Linked DNA regions of Homo sapiens: region 2 is linked to region 1. The links are contacts of gene promoters, found by promoter capture Hi-C in blood cells and fetal thymus (Javierre and others, 2016). All regions are on one chromosome and are shown on one strand. The core of a region is centred on a gene start or on the middle of the fragment in contact, and the rest is flanking DNA. Distances in the headings are between cores, read along the strand shown. Region 1 holds the start of NEDD4L (NEDD4 like E3 ubiquitin protein ligase). Region 2 holds the start of TXNL1 (thioredoxin like 1).

The links. Contacts are between HindIII fragments. The CHiCAGO score rates a contact against its expected background, and 5 or more counts as called.
Region 2: a fragment that was not itself captured here is called in contact with the fragment with the promoter of NEDD4L in region 1 in 2 of 17 cell types (activated CD4 T cells and fetal thymus); the score reaches 5.9 in activated CD4 T cells.

The regions. Positions count from the first base shown.
Region 1 is chr18:58,040,289-58,047,881 of GRCh38, forward strand. NEDD4L (NEDD4 like E3 ubiquitin protein ligase) reads left to right here and starts at 3,938. Exons shown (of 31, transcript NM_001144967.3): 1 at 3,938-4,420. The coding sequence starts at 4,373. RefSeq lists a cis regulatory region at 1,331-1,743 and silencers at 3,633-4,002, 4,023-4,572. The HindIII fragment of the contact is 1,832 bases long and covers 3,234-5,065 here.
Region 2 is chr18:56,633,381-56,638,761 of GRCh38, forward strand. TXNL1 (thioredoxin like 1) reads right to left here and starts at 5,212. Exons shown (of 8, transcript NM_004786.3): 1 at 4,963-5,212. The coding sequence starts at 5,060. RefSeq lists enhancers at 4,264-5,249, 5,031-5,090, 5,250-5,381 and a silencer at 5,241-5,381. The HindIII fragment of the contact is 1,142 bases long and covers 3,425-4,566 here.

The sequences.
Region 1 (7,593 bases), core at 2,688-5,187:
GGCCGAGGCAGGTGGATCACGAGGTCAGGAGATCGAGACCATCCTGACTAACAAGGTGAAACCCCGTCTCTACTAAAAATACAAAAAATTAGCCGGGCGTGGTGGCGGGCGCCTGTAGTCCCAGCTGCTTGGGAGGCTGAGGCAGGAGAATGCCGTGAACCCAGGAGGCGGAGCTTGCAGTGAGCCGAGATCACGCCACTGCACTCCAGCCTGGGCAGCAGAGCGAGACTCCATCTCAAAAAAAAAAAAAAAAAAAAAGAAAGAAAGAAAAGAAATTGGATTACTAATCTGAGACTTCAGAGTAGATGATGGGTAAACTGATTGATGATGCTAGTCTTCTAAGTATGTTTGTTTATATTCTACCTCACTCCACAAAAGATTTGAGTGTGTTTATAACATGCAATTTCCTCTAAGTTGAAAAAAAACGAATGAAAAAACAGAGTGGTGGAAAATATATAAAGAAAAGGCATATAGGCTGGGCTCAGTAGCTCATGCCTGTAATCCTAACACTTTGGGAGGCCAAGGTGGGAGGATCACTTGAAGCCTAGAATTCGAGACCAGCCTGGGCAAGGGAGACCCCATCTCTACAAAAAACAAAAAACCTTAGCCGGTACAATGGTGTGCTCCTGTAGTCCCAGCTACTTGGGAGGCTGAGGTGGGAGGATCACTTGAGTCCTGGAGTTTGAGGGTACAGTGTGCTGTGATCATGCCACTGTTCTCCAGTCTGGACAACAGAGCAAGAACTTGTCTCTCGGGGAAAAGGAAAAGAAAAAGAAAAAAAAAAAGAATAGTAATATAAATCTAGGCCAGATGTCTCTAAACTTGGCAGTGGTGCATTAGGATCACCTGGGGAACTTTTAAAGCTCCTGATGCCCATGTGGCACCCTGTACTAATTAAATCATAACGCCTGGGAGTGGGAGGCAGAGAGGAGCAGTAGTAAAAATTCCCAAATGTTTCTATGTATAGCAAAATTTGGAAACTAAGCTGATGTTCTCAGCCTTAAATGCACATTAGCATCACCTGGGAGGCTGTTGAAACTACTGATGTCAGAATCCATTAAATCATAGCCTCTGATGCTGGTTACCGGGCACTTAGTCTATTTGAAAGCTCCCCAGGTGATTGCAATGTACATGCTGAGTAGAGAACCACAGCACTGGGGGAAAGTTGGTATATAGTTACAAAAGGGATTTTTTTTAATGGGTTCTTTTATGGCTTAAGACCATGAAACTGGTTCTGAGCTTCCTGGTGGCCAAAGTAGATAGAAAAACACAGTCGGTTTTAATAATTTTGGTCATCTGCCATGCAAAAGCTTACCAGTTTCTTGAAAGCAAAAGAGCTTTTCTTCATAGATCTGAAATAAATGTCTAGTTTATTAGTCTTCTCACAGAGGATGTTGATGTCATGGATCACGATTTTATAAACACCCCACAATAAGTGACATATGGCAAGTTTCATATTATAGTTCCTAATAACCATCCCTCAGGGAAAGACAAGGACATGACCCTGAGTGCAGGGCTATAGGCTGTTGCGGTGGGTGTGTGGGAGTAGATGATAAAAGACAGGAAGAGAAACTGCCACACCCCTCTACAGTTTCCAGATAACATAGCCTTACCCAAAGGCGAAGCCTGGAATTGTGTACCTCCAGGATGTGGAAGGCGTGTCCTGTGTAATTAGAAATTATAATTTTCTATCAGCACATTTTAAGAATTATTTATTTATGTATTTATTTATTTAGAGACACAGGGTCTTTCTCTGTCATCCAGGCTGGAGTGCAATGGCACGATCATAGCTCACTGTAACCTTGAACTTCTGGGCTCAAGTGAACCTCTAGTCTTAGCCTCCTGAGTAGCTAGGACTATGGGCCCATGCCACCACACCTGGCAAATTTTTAATTTTTTTTTTTTTTTGTAGGGACAGGGGTCTCTCTATATTGCCCAGGCTGGTCTCGAACTCCTGGCCTCAAATGATCCTCCTGCCTCTGCCTCCCAAAATGCTAGCATTATTATTCAATTACTTTTCTTCCTTTATAATATAAACTGTACAAATTTTACAAAGGTTTGGCTAGTGAGGGTAGGTAGAGAAGCACTGACTCCCATCCATGAGGGTCACAGGCTAGGGCAAGGGCATCTGAGAATGCGTGTGTGTGTGTGTGTGTGTGTGTGAGAGAGAGAGAGAGAAAGACAGAGTGTGCACGTGTACCTTTTGTTTATCAAAAGACTTTAGGGTTGTTTTTTTTTGTTTTTGTTTTTTTTGAGACGGAGTCTCGCTCTGTGGTCCAGGCTGGAGTGCAGTGGCGCAGTCTCGGCTCACTGCAACCTCCGCCTCCCAGGTTCAAGGGATCCTCATGCCTCAGCCTCCCCGAGTAGCTGGGATTACAGGCGCCCGCCACCACGCCTGGGTAATTTTTGTATTTTTAGTAGAGATGGAGTTTCACCACATTGGCCAGCTGGTCTTGAACTACCGATCTTATGATCCGCCCGCCTCAGCCTCCCAAAGTGCTGGGATTACAGGTTTGAGCCACCGTGCCCGGTCTAAAGACTCGAGGTTTGAAAGGGTTGAAAAACCTCAGTATTGAAAGAATGGACAGAAATCTGACTTTTAAATAGTCCTCCATAAATAGTTCTCATTGGGGGTTTTGTGGCCTGTAAGTACTGTGGACTTGACGGCTCAAGACTTCTAGAGAAGGCTTCTGAGTAGGATGTTGACTCCATGGGGCTAAGTCGTCAAAGGAAACCCATTCTACGGCACAGGTTTTAAGCCAGTCATGCTGCAGGAAGGCAAAGGAGAGCTTAAGGTAGCATGGGTGGGCTCTTTTGAAAACGAACTAGCAGGGCGAACAGCAGATATTTAGTTATGTAGCTGGCAACGAGGAATATGATTCCTTCGGGTCACGCGAGTTCTCTCTGAACTTCCTTGAATGAAAATCCTAAATGCATCCTGGTAATACCCAAGTAGGCACTTTGACGTTTCCTTTTCAAAGGCAAATGGAATGTTCTGCGTCTGTTTTCTTTTTGAACTCCCAACTGCACTTAACATCTAAATTTAAGGAAAGGCTTCCGAAAAAGTCGACTGACGAATTTCTTTCACTTATTTAAAGTAGTCTCTTGCAGTCCTATAAATCGGAAGGATTAAATGAACTGCTTGCTAGAGAAACGGTAGCTGGGTGGTGGGAAGAATCCTACGGTGGCTAATAAGACGTCTCGATCATTTGCATATGCAAAGGATAACCTTAAGCTTGAGTTTGATATTTCACGTTGCGGCTCACAAATGAACTGCTTTTTATTCAAAGAACCATGCTGTCTGTTTTCGCGTGGGTGGGTGTGTAACCGGGGCGGGCGCTATGTTGGTTTTGTTCCCTGCAAGGTTGACACAGGCAATGGCGACTTGCGGCCACACTGGGGCAGCCTCTCCTCGGCTGGCAGCCGGGCCGGGCGGCTCGCTCCCGGGAGCTGACAATGTAGCCAAGTCCTGCTCGTCGGGGCCGCAAAGAATTTAAAGGGGTCTAGAAACATCCATCTTTTCCCCTTTTCACAGTTAACAGCGAGCTCAGGGCTCTCGGTAAAAAGACCACCGGGAGGAAGAAACGCTCAGGGCGTTTTTGTTATTGTTCGCAAAATCCTCTATCGCCCCCAAACGTCCAGCCCGCCCCCTCCCTAAAGCGGAGGGAAACCGGGAGAGGAGGGAGGGTCGGCGGCGCCGGCCAAGCGCGCCAGTACACGCCCCTGCGGATCCGCCCCGCGGCCGGGTGACCCCCGCCGCGCCGCGCTGGAGGCCCCGGGCCGGGGTGGGCGTGGGGCTGAACTCCGCCACCCCCGCAGCCCGCGGCCCGCTCGCCAGCCCGGCCTGTGATTGGCTTGGGGGGCGCGTGTGCCCGCCCCGGCGAACGGGGAGGGTACCCTCGCGGCGCCGGTGGGAGGAGGCGGAGGAGGGGGCGGAGAGAGCGGGGGCCCGGACGGCGCTAGCGAGGAGGCGGGCGAGCCGGGTCCCCGGGAGCGCAGAGGAGGCTCGGAGGGGGGCGGAGAGCGGCGGGGCGGGAGGGAGGCGCGGGTCGCGGGGAGGGAAAGCCCGGCCGGGTCTGCGCCGCCGCCGCGCGCAGTGAGAGGCGCCGGGGCTGCCGCCCGGTGCTCGGCGCGCTCTCGGGAGCCGCCCGCCCGCTGGTCCCGCAGCCTTCCGGGAGGAAGCGGTGCCGGCAGCGTCCAGGGCGCGCTCTCGGGCACCCTCACCTGCCGGCGCCCGGCCGCTTACCCGGCAGGGCGTGCGCAGGGTAGGGTGCGGGACCGGGGGGACCTGGAGGCAGAGGGGAGAACCGGCCGTCCGCGCCGCAGCACAGCCGCTGGGAGCGCCTCAGACCCCGCGCGGGGCGCCGGCTCCATGGCGACCGGGCTCGGGGAGCCGGTCTATGGACTTTCCGAAGACGAGGTGAGTGGCACCCCCTTCCTGCTCGGGACTCCCCGGGGAGTTCCTATCCCGCGCCGGCAGGGGGAGGGGAAAGGGGCCGTCCCCGGGGTGCTCGTGCCCAGCGTCTGCAGGGGAGCCCCAAAGCGGGAGCGCCCCGGAGCGGGATCCAGGGGAGCTTGGGTCCTTCCGCACCCCCCACCCTCCGCAAGCCGAGCTCATTGTTTGTAAATAAAGCGGCGCGACGCCCTTGGAGCTGGGGGTTCACTCCGCAGCTCCTCGCTTTCGGGAGGAGAGGGAGGGGGCATGCGTGCCTCTCTTCCCTCTTCCTCTCCAAGCAGCGTCTCCCGGGGCTGTTGGGCAACTTTCCGCCTCTCGCCCCTGCAGCCCGGGAGTCCATGATGCATGTCACGTCTGGGTCGCGCGGCTGGAGACCCGGGACTGCGGAGAAGCCGGATCGTTTCCCCCTGGAACTTTCTCTCTCATGATTGTGTGGATCAGCAGGCGCTCAGAAGCCTGTGCGTGCTTATCCCGGCGGGAATGGGGGACACGCTGCGTGTGTCCCTCCCCTCGTTTTGCAAAGTCTACGGCCAGGATTGTGGATTTCGGAGCCTCGGTGGGGGAGGTGTTCAAGGCTGGTGGCAGGTGCTCCTGGAAACTTGGGGAGGAAGCTTGCAGCCCTGCCATTTTTTCCTCCCGAGGATTCAAAGCCCGGCACCTCCAGGGTGGGTGGGGAGAGGAAAGCTTAATTGATCTCTTTTATTAATAAAGCGACTGAATAAGCCACGCCTCCCAGGCGGTCGGTTTCACTGGAAAGGGCTTTGTTTTTACCTTCATTCTCTCTTCCGTGTCTCCCACTCCCCCCTTTTGAAACAATCCTGCTAAATCACTGCCTAGTCCTCTCTCGACCAGCCACGCTCGGCTCTTATTGGTATGTTGCTCTGCCAAAAAGGGGGGTGGGACGCTTGTCGCGGGCGCGGCGTGACAGGCAGGCTGGATGGAGCAGGTAGGAGTGGTTTGCCATCTGGCGGGGTGCGCGCTCAGGTCTGGCTCCCCTTTCGAGAGGTGAATTTTACAACCCAAGAAGCATTACTCAGCAGGGAGGTATTTCCTATCCTGGTTGTGCATTTCATGAAAAGTTGATGCCTGGAAATTCAGGCGTTCTCGATTTCTCTTTCTTCCCCTCCCTCCTTTCTTTTCAGAGGTTCCCTCTTTCTCTCGTGTTGGGGGTGGGGTTGGAAGAAAGGCTATTATCTGAGACAGGCTCGCGTTATGGCTCCGCTTTCTGCGGCTCTCCTACCCTGGCATGGTGTGTGTGTGTGCCTGTGTGCTACGTAAGTGTGGAATGAAAGGTATTTTGGGGTGGGAAGGGTGTTTAGGGTATGAATTTTTTTCTTAGCGGTGCTAGGCAAAGCTTGATGTATTTATTTGATCAAAGAATGATCACAGTGCAAATAATGTGTGATTTGTGTGTTTATTTTGCCTCGCTGTGCTTTTGTAAAATAATTTCCCGTTTTGTGTAACTACCTGGGGATAGGTGACAGTAGCATTGTTTCATTGACCCGGGGGGCTTCTCCTCTCCCTCCTGGCTTCTCTCTTTGAGGAGCTTTCCCTTGCATCCTCTACTTCTCCATTTAATTAGTGGCAGTAGAGGGCAGGCCCTGAGTTGCAGAGACGCAGACATTCCTAAACAAAGGGGCTGCTTGGGTTGACGTATTGTGGGGGGTGGGGGTGAGGACAGCTGCATTTCATCCTAGGTTCTTTTAAAAAATGTTTTAATAACATGATTATTTGTAAAAACTCCCCCGAAAAAACGATTTTAAGAGTGTTTTGGGAAGTGCAGCTGGATAAATGAAACACGTTAATGTCACTGTTGTTTGTGCTTTATTTACATTGGCAGTGAGTGTCAGAATCTACCTAGAGCACATCTTGCCACTTTTGTCCACAGGAGTCACTACTAATCATCATAACTGATGTCTAGTGTGAAAGTGAAGCTTGGAATGTAAACAGAGTCCGAGTGTGTGTTGGCATGTGACTGGATTCACTCCTGCATGTTGCTAGAAGGGAATTTGGGGCTGTATAGGAAATAGCAAGAGGTGATGAAGACACCTTTTATTATCTATTTATTGCCATGTCGCTGGTAGTATTTAGTTCCACACACATTGTATTTCACAAGATGAGTCTCAGCCGTCTTCCTTTTTCAACTTTCTCCTACCAGTGAAAAAATAAGCCAGGGCAGTTCTGATGACTTCACATTTCATTGGTATTTGTTTTTCATGGGCAGTTTCATGCTGTCACGTTGCCCTTCAGAGAATCAGGGAATGCCTTCGTAGAATATTAACGACAAATTGTTGAATTTGCACAGCTTGTTTTGTCTCCCTGAATTAGTATGTGTAAGAAAAACCAATGGAAGATTTTAGCAGGCTCTGAAAGTAGAATGCCCGCTGAAGCAAACGGCAGGGTTGTTCTTCCAAGGCGTATTAAATATGGGTACACTTAGTTTGCAGACTTGGTGTGCTGCAGAATATCACATATGAAGATATTTTGACCGCTATTTAGAAGAGTGACCTCATAAATCTTTTAGCAAAGTAGACACACATACCTACCACATTTCTTAAAAGTAGATTCGTATTTTGATTTGAGATTGTTGAAAAGCATGGTATGTTTGGAGTGCACTTAGTTATGTCCCATCTCATAAAGACTGTTGAGCTCTCTGCACTGCTGATGATGAAGCATTGCATGAACCCAGAAAACGGGGATGCCAAAGCACAGGGCTTAGGTGCTGTTCCTTGCGTCATCAGCAGAGGTCTGTCCACTTTGTAGAAGGTAAGGGGTTGAGATGTGGGCTTTGCTTGTGTGAATGTATGTGCTGTTTAATTTTTTCTGTGTGTTTCGGGCGGAGGTTTCTCTGGTGAGTTATAATTCATATTTACCCTGATTTAAGTCATGTCACTTTAGGTAGCCAGATTCAAAACCATCAGATGAAGGACTTTTGGTGTTAGAGGGATTAGCAGTTTAACAAAACTTCTGATTCATGGCCCAAGATCAGATTTGGTTTGGAATCAGAACACTTTGGACTAGTTTCTGCATCTGGCTTGAGTCCTTGTGGATTTCTTGTTTTATTTCTTTATTTTTGGCAATCTGTAGTGCATTTTGGCATAGTTTACTTATGAATGTTACCGCTAACTTTCTGAAAT
Region 2 (5,381 bases), core at 2,746-5,245, 1.4 Mb before region 1:
AGCTTGCAGTGAGCTGAGATTGTGCCACTGCACTCCAGCCTAGGCTAGAGAGCGAGACTCTGTCTCAAAAAAAAAAAAAAAAAAAAAAATTAGCCAGGCATAGTGGTGCGTGCCTGTAGTTCCGATTACTGCTGGGGCTGAGTTGGGAGGATTGCTTGAGCCCAGGAGGTCGAGGCTGCAATTGAGCCATGATCACATCACTGTACTGCAGCCTGAGCAACAGAGCGAGACCCTGTCTCAAAAAAAAAAAAAAAAAAAAATCAGTGCATGGTAAACATTATCTACAAAAGTGATACATTCATCAATTCAAGATAAAAACCATTGGCTGGGTGTGGTGGCTCACACCTGTAATCCCAGCACTTTGAGAGGCCGAGGCGGGCAGATCACGAGGTCAGGAGTTCGAGACCAGCCTGACCAACATGGTGAAACCCCGTCTCTACTAAAAATACAAAAATTAGCCATGTGTGGTGGCGCATACCTGTAATCCCAGCTCCTCAGGAGGCTGAGGCAGGAGAATTGCTTGAACCTGGGAGGCAGAGGTTGCAGTGAGCTGAGATCATGCCACTGCACTCCAGCCTGGATGACAGAGCAAGACTCCATCTCAAAAAAAAAAAAAAAAAAAAAAAAAATCATTCACACTGTTTAATGGTGGGGAGGGGGGAGACCAGGGACAACGAACGACACAATGTATATTCTTTTAACTCTTTAGTAACAACAAAACTGGTACTACTCATAACCACTAAAATGTATCTGGGCATAAGTAACAATTTGGAGACACTGTTTAAAAATATTACCAAAAAGAATATCAGAGAGTGAAATGAATTGCAGGCAGAGGTGTAAATTATTTAAGGAAAGGCATATTGAAAATTGTCAGGCTCTGTGCAGATACACAGAGATGAACGTGCATTTCTTTTCTCCTTAGGCTGGAAAGATCAAGAACAGCACTTTATAATTCAAACGATGCATTTATTAACGGGACCTTAAACAAATTATTTAACCTCTCTGTGACTCAATGTCCTCAACTGTAAAACAAGGATAGCTGTTAGGGTTATTCTGAGGAATGAATTGAGTCAATATAAGAGCTTAAACAAGTTCCTTACACAGACTAAGGAATATGTAAGCGTTGACTATTTTAATCCTTAAAAAATACTCTGGGAAAAGGGTGCTGATCATTCAATGAGGAAAAGACAGTGTTTTCGATAAACGGTGTTGGAAAAATTGGATATCCACATGCCAAAAAATGAACTGGACCCTAACTTTATGACATATACCAAAATTAACTCAAAATGGATCAAGGACCTAAACTTAAGAGCTAAAACTATAAAACTCTTAGATGAAAACATAGGGAGAAATCTTCATGACATTGAATCTTGCAATGATTTCTTGAATATGACACCAAAAGCACAGGCAACAAAAGTATAGATAAATTGGACTTCATCAAAATTTAAAACTCATGCATCAAAGGACACCATCAAGAAAAAGACAACCCAAAGAATGGGACAAAGTATTTGCAAATTAAATATTAACATCCGGCATATATAAAGAACTCCTGCAACTCAACCCAAAAACAAACCACTCAATTCAAAAATGGGCACAGAAGGCCCAGCGCAGTGACTCACACCTGTAACCCCAGCAATTTGGGATGCTGACGTGGGAGGGTCGCTTGAAGCCAGGATTTAGACCAGCCTGGGCAACAAAGTGAGACTTAGTCTCTAAAACAAAAAATAAATTAGCGGGCATGGTGGTATGTGTCTGTAGTCCCATTTACTTGAGAGGCTGATGTGGGAGGATTGCTTGAGGCCAGGAATTCAATGCTGCAGTGAGCCATCGTCTCAAAACTGCACTCCAGCCTGGGCAACAGAGCAAGACCCTGTCTCTAACAAATAAGAAAAAAGAAAAGCAAGCAAGTAAGCAGGGATCCCCGCATAGCAATGTCCCCTAGCAGCATTATCCACAACAGCCAAAGGAAGACACAACTGGAATGTCCATCAAAAAATGAACAGGTATACAAAATTTGCCATATAAATAAATGGATTATGTTATGCAGTTATAAAGAAGAATGAAATTCTGAGACATACTAAGACATGGATGAACCTTGAAAATACTATGCTAAGTGAAGTCAAAAACAAAAGGACAAATATTGTTACGATTTCACTTATATTAGGTGCCACAAATTGACAAATTCATAGAGACAGAAAGCAGAATAGAAGTTACCAAGGAGGTAGATGGGGAGGGGCAAATTACTGCTTAATGGGTACAGTTTTGTCCCTTTGGAGAAGTAAGGATGGGGAGTTATCCTTTAATGGATATAGAATTTCTGTCTAAAGTTATAGGAAACAGTGGTGATGGTGGCACAACATTGTGACTGTATAGTCATGTCTGGGTATCTGGGGGATTAGTTTCAGGACCTCCAGCAAGACACTAAATCACAGATGCTCAAGGGCCTAATAGAAAATGACATGGTATCTGCACATAACCTACGACCATTCTCCCATATACTTTAAATCATCTCTAGATTACTTATAATGCCTAAGGTAAATGCTATGTAAATAGTTGTTATACTGTATTGTTTAGAAAATAATGACAAGAAAAAAGTGTGTACATGATCAGCACAAATGCAATTTTTTTTCTCCAAATATTTTCTATCCACATTTGGTTCAATCCATGGATACAGAGGGCTGACTGTCCTTAATGCCAATGAATTATACTCTTACAAATGGCTAAATGGTCAATTTTATGTTATATATATTTTATCATAAGCCACTAAAGATTCTTACACAGGAGAACAATCTATGTATCATTTTAGTAAAATTTAGACTGAGAGTGCATAAAGCATAGAGGTTAAAAAAAAAGAAAAAAGGTTTAAAATAGGGTTGGAAAGGAAATGAAATAGGTGCTGGAGAAACTATGCCCTCAGTCTAAACTGGGACAGCATTAACTTTGATCTAAGAGGATTCTTACAAGATTTTACTGAATACAGTTGTTTCTGAGTCTAATACTGACCCGTCATATACATAATTCTGGGGTTCTATTGACAATGAGTTTAGACAGGATGTATTAATGGCCAATAAGTTCGAGGAATATTAAAGGTAAATACAATAATCTTACCAGATTTGTAAACGTAATATAAATATGCTTTTGAACTTACTCTAAATCCAAACATTAATTTTCCCTCGGTTTTTACAAAGAAAAAAAATTTTAATTCCACTAAAATACCTTTTTAAATGTAACAGTTCCTTACCAATCAATGTCTGCAGTTATGCTTATGCTTAAGTGACACCACACTGATAGAAAAAACCTTCCTTCGCAGCAATGTTTCCCCAGTTTTCTCACTTCAATCAATATTTATTTATTATTTTATTATCTCTCCCACTGCTATGGTAAGGGAGAAAAACAATATATCATTGAGGGACAAAAATATAAAAGCTTCGACGGGCCAGAATTAGAATAAGTGAACTAAAAGTGAGGTGAGGTTCCTTATTGAAATCCTATCTTCCCTTTTCTACTGTGGCCTAGATACTTAATGTACTACAGGTATTCCCCTATTATTAAGAATACAGACATCACAAAATTGCTAAAAATGAGAAGACACATTTATAGAATTCTAACATTCCTTTTAGGTGTTTTATATATATGACATCACTTATCCTTTTAAATTTAGTAAATGCAAAATTCCGTATATCATATGGGTACTCTAGCCCACCATATGAAATGCAAGGTACTATCCTTTTTCAATTCAGTGTAAGAGAGACTGGTCCAAAAATAAGTCTTAACTTGTTTTCATATCTATCTGCATCCATTCCCTAAAACGATATAATCCTAATGCCACCATTTATATACTCAACATTTAGTGAACCATCTAGTAGAAACTTTGTTTTTTGCTCTGAAATTCAAAATGGAATTTTGTGTTTATACAGTTATTTGGACAAGAAAGTGTGTTACATAAACAGTGATACCAGCAGTAGACTGCTCCAAGTTAGATGTATAAATAACGCCAAGGGGTCAAGGAAAATAAAGCGGAAACCTCTCATACTTCTAACTAAATACTATCGACATACACAAGGAGAGATCTGTGAAACACACACACACGCTGAAATCTTGGTTCTCAACGCCGAGTTCCAACATGTCATTCTTACAAAGGAACTTTACTACACATCCACTATAAAAGGTCCACCTTTTCTACGACCTATAATTTTGTTGATATTTACCAAAGACAGTTAACATTTTTCAAGATCCCTGTCCTCTTAAGTGAAAAAACAGAGCCGGGTCAAACTAAGACATCCGGCCAACTGTCCACCTGAAATATATTATATATGTACTGTCGTGTGTGACCAGTTGCAATCGCATACATAGGGGAGCCTAAGCTACAAGTTAGTGGCCGAACGAGGAAGAAAAAAGTTCAAATAATTTAAAAAGCACCCTAACCCAACGTTAACTTAGTTCGAAATGCATTAGCAGAAATTCAGGACTCAGAGCTACGCATATTAGTTAGATCGCCCCATCTGAATCTTCAAAGGCTTTAGAGAGATGTAGGTGGTGAAGAGAAACAAAGTGTTCGGTAAATTAAGCTTTTGGAGCTCTGGAGATGCAAATGACAGCTGGCTCTGCAGAAAGAAGGGGTCAGGCTCAGGCAAGGGTGGCTGCGGAGACTCCCACAGGCTGGAAGGAATAGGGGCGGGCCACCCCCAAAACCAGTTTGTCAAAGAATTGAAAAGGAGCAGGTGAGAAATCTCCTGAGCTGGAGAAGCCGGCCAGCCAGGCCCCCGAGCCCGTCTAGGAACCCCTGTGCATAAATGGGGGTTCACACCCGAGAAACGAGGCCTAATTCCGGCAGCTCCTGGGGCTGCGGCGACTGCCGGACACTCCGGGGCAGCAGACGGCTAGGAAACCAGGGCCAACAAAGAGTGAAAGGAAAGCAAGGAAGGACAGACGGGGACCCACAGAGCTCGAGCCTGGCCTCACCCTCTCATGGTGAACTTGACCACGGCGAGTCTGGAGCCCGCGCCGCTCAGCTCTGGCTGGAAATCCGGGTCGCTCCCGACGGGCTTCACCCCCACCATCCTCACAGAGAGCCCGGCAGGGTGGCCGCGACGCCACTGGCTTTGAAACTGAAGGAGAAGACGATCTGGGAGAGGAAGGAGAGATGCTCAGGAAGGCCGAGGCCTGGACAGAAGAGGTGGCGACCGCCGAGTCTTCTCCCGGGACTCTCAGTGCCGAGTCACGCCAGGGAGCGGAGCGGCCGAGGGGGCGGGGAGGGATGGGGGAGGGGAGAGGAGGAGGATGGGAAGGCGTGCGGCACCCAGCAGCCACCGCGCGGCAGGGCCCCCGGCGTGACGTCATTTCCGCGTCGTCCGGTTTGGCCTTCAGCGCCCAATCCCAAA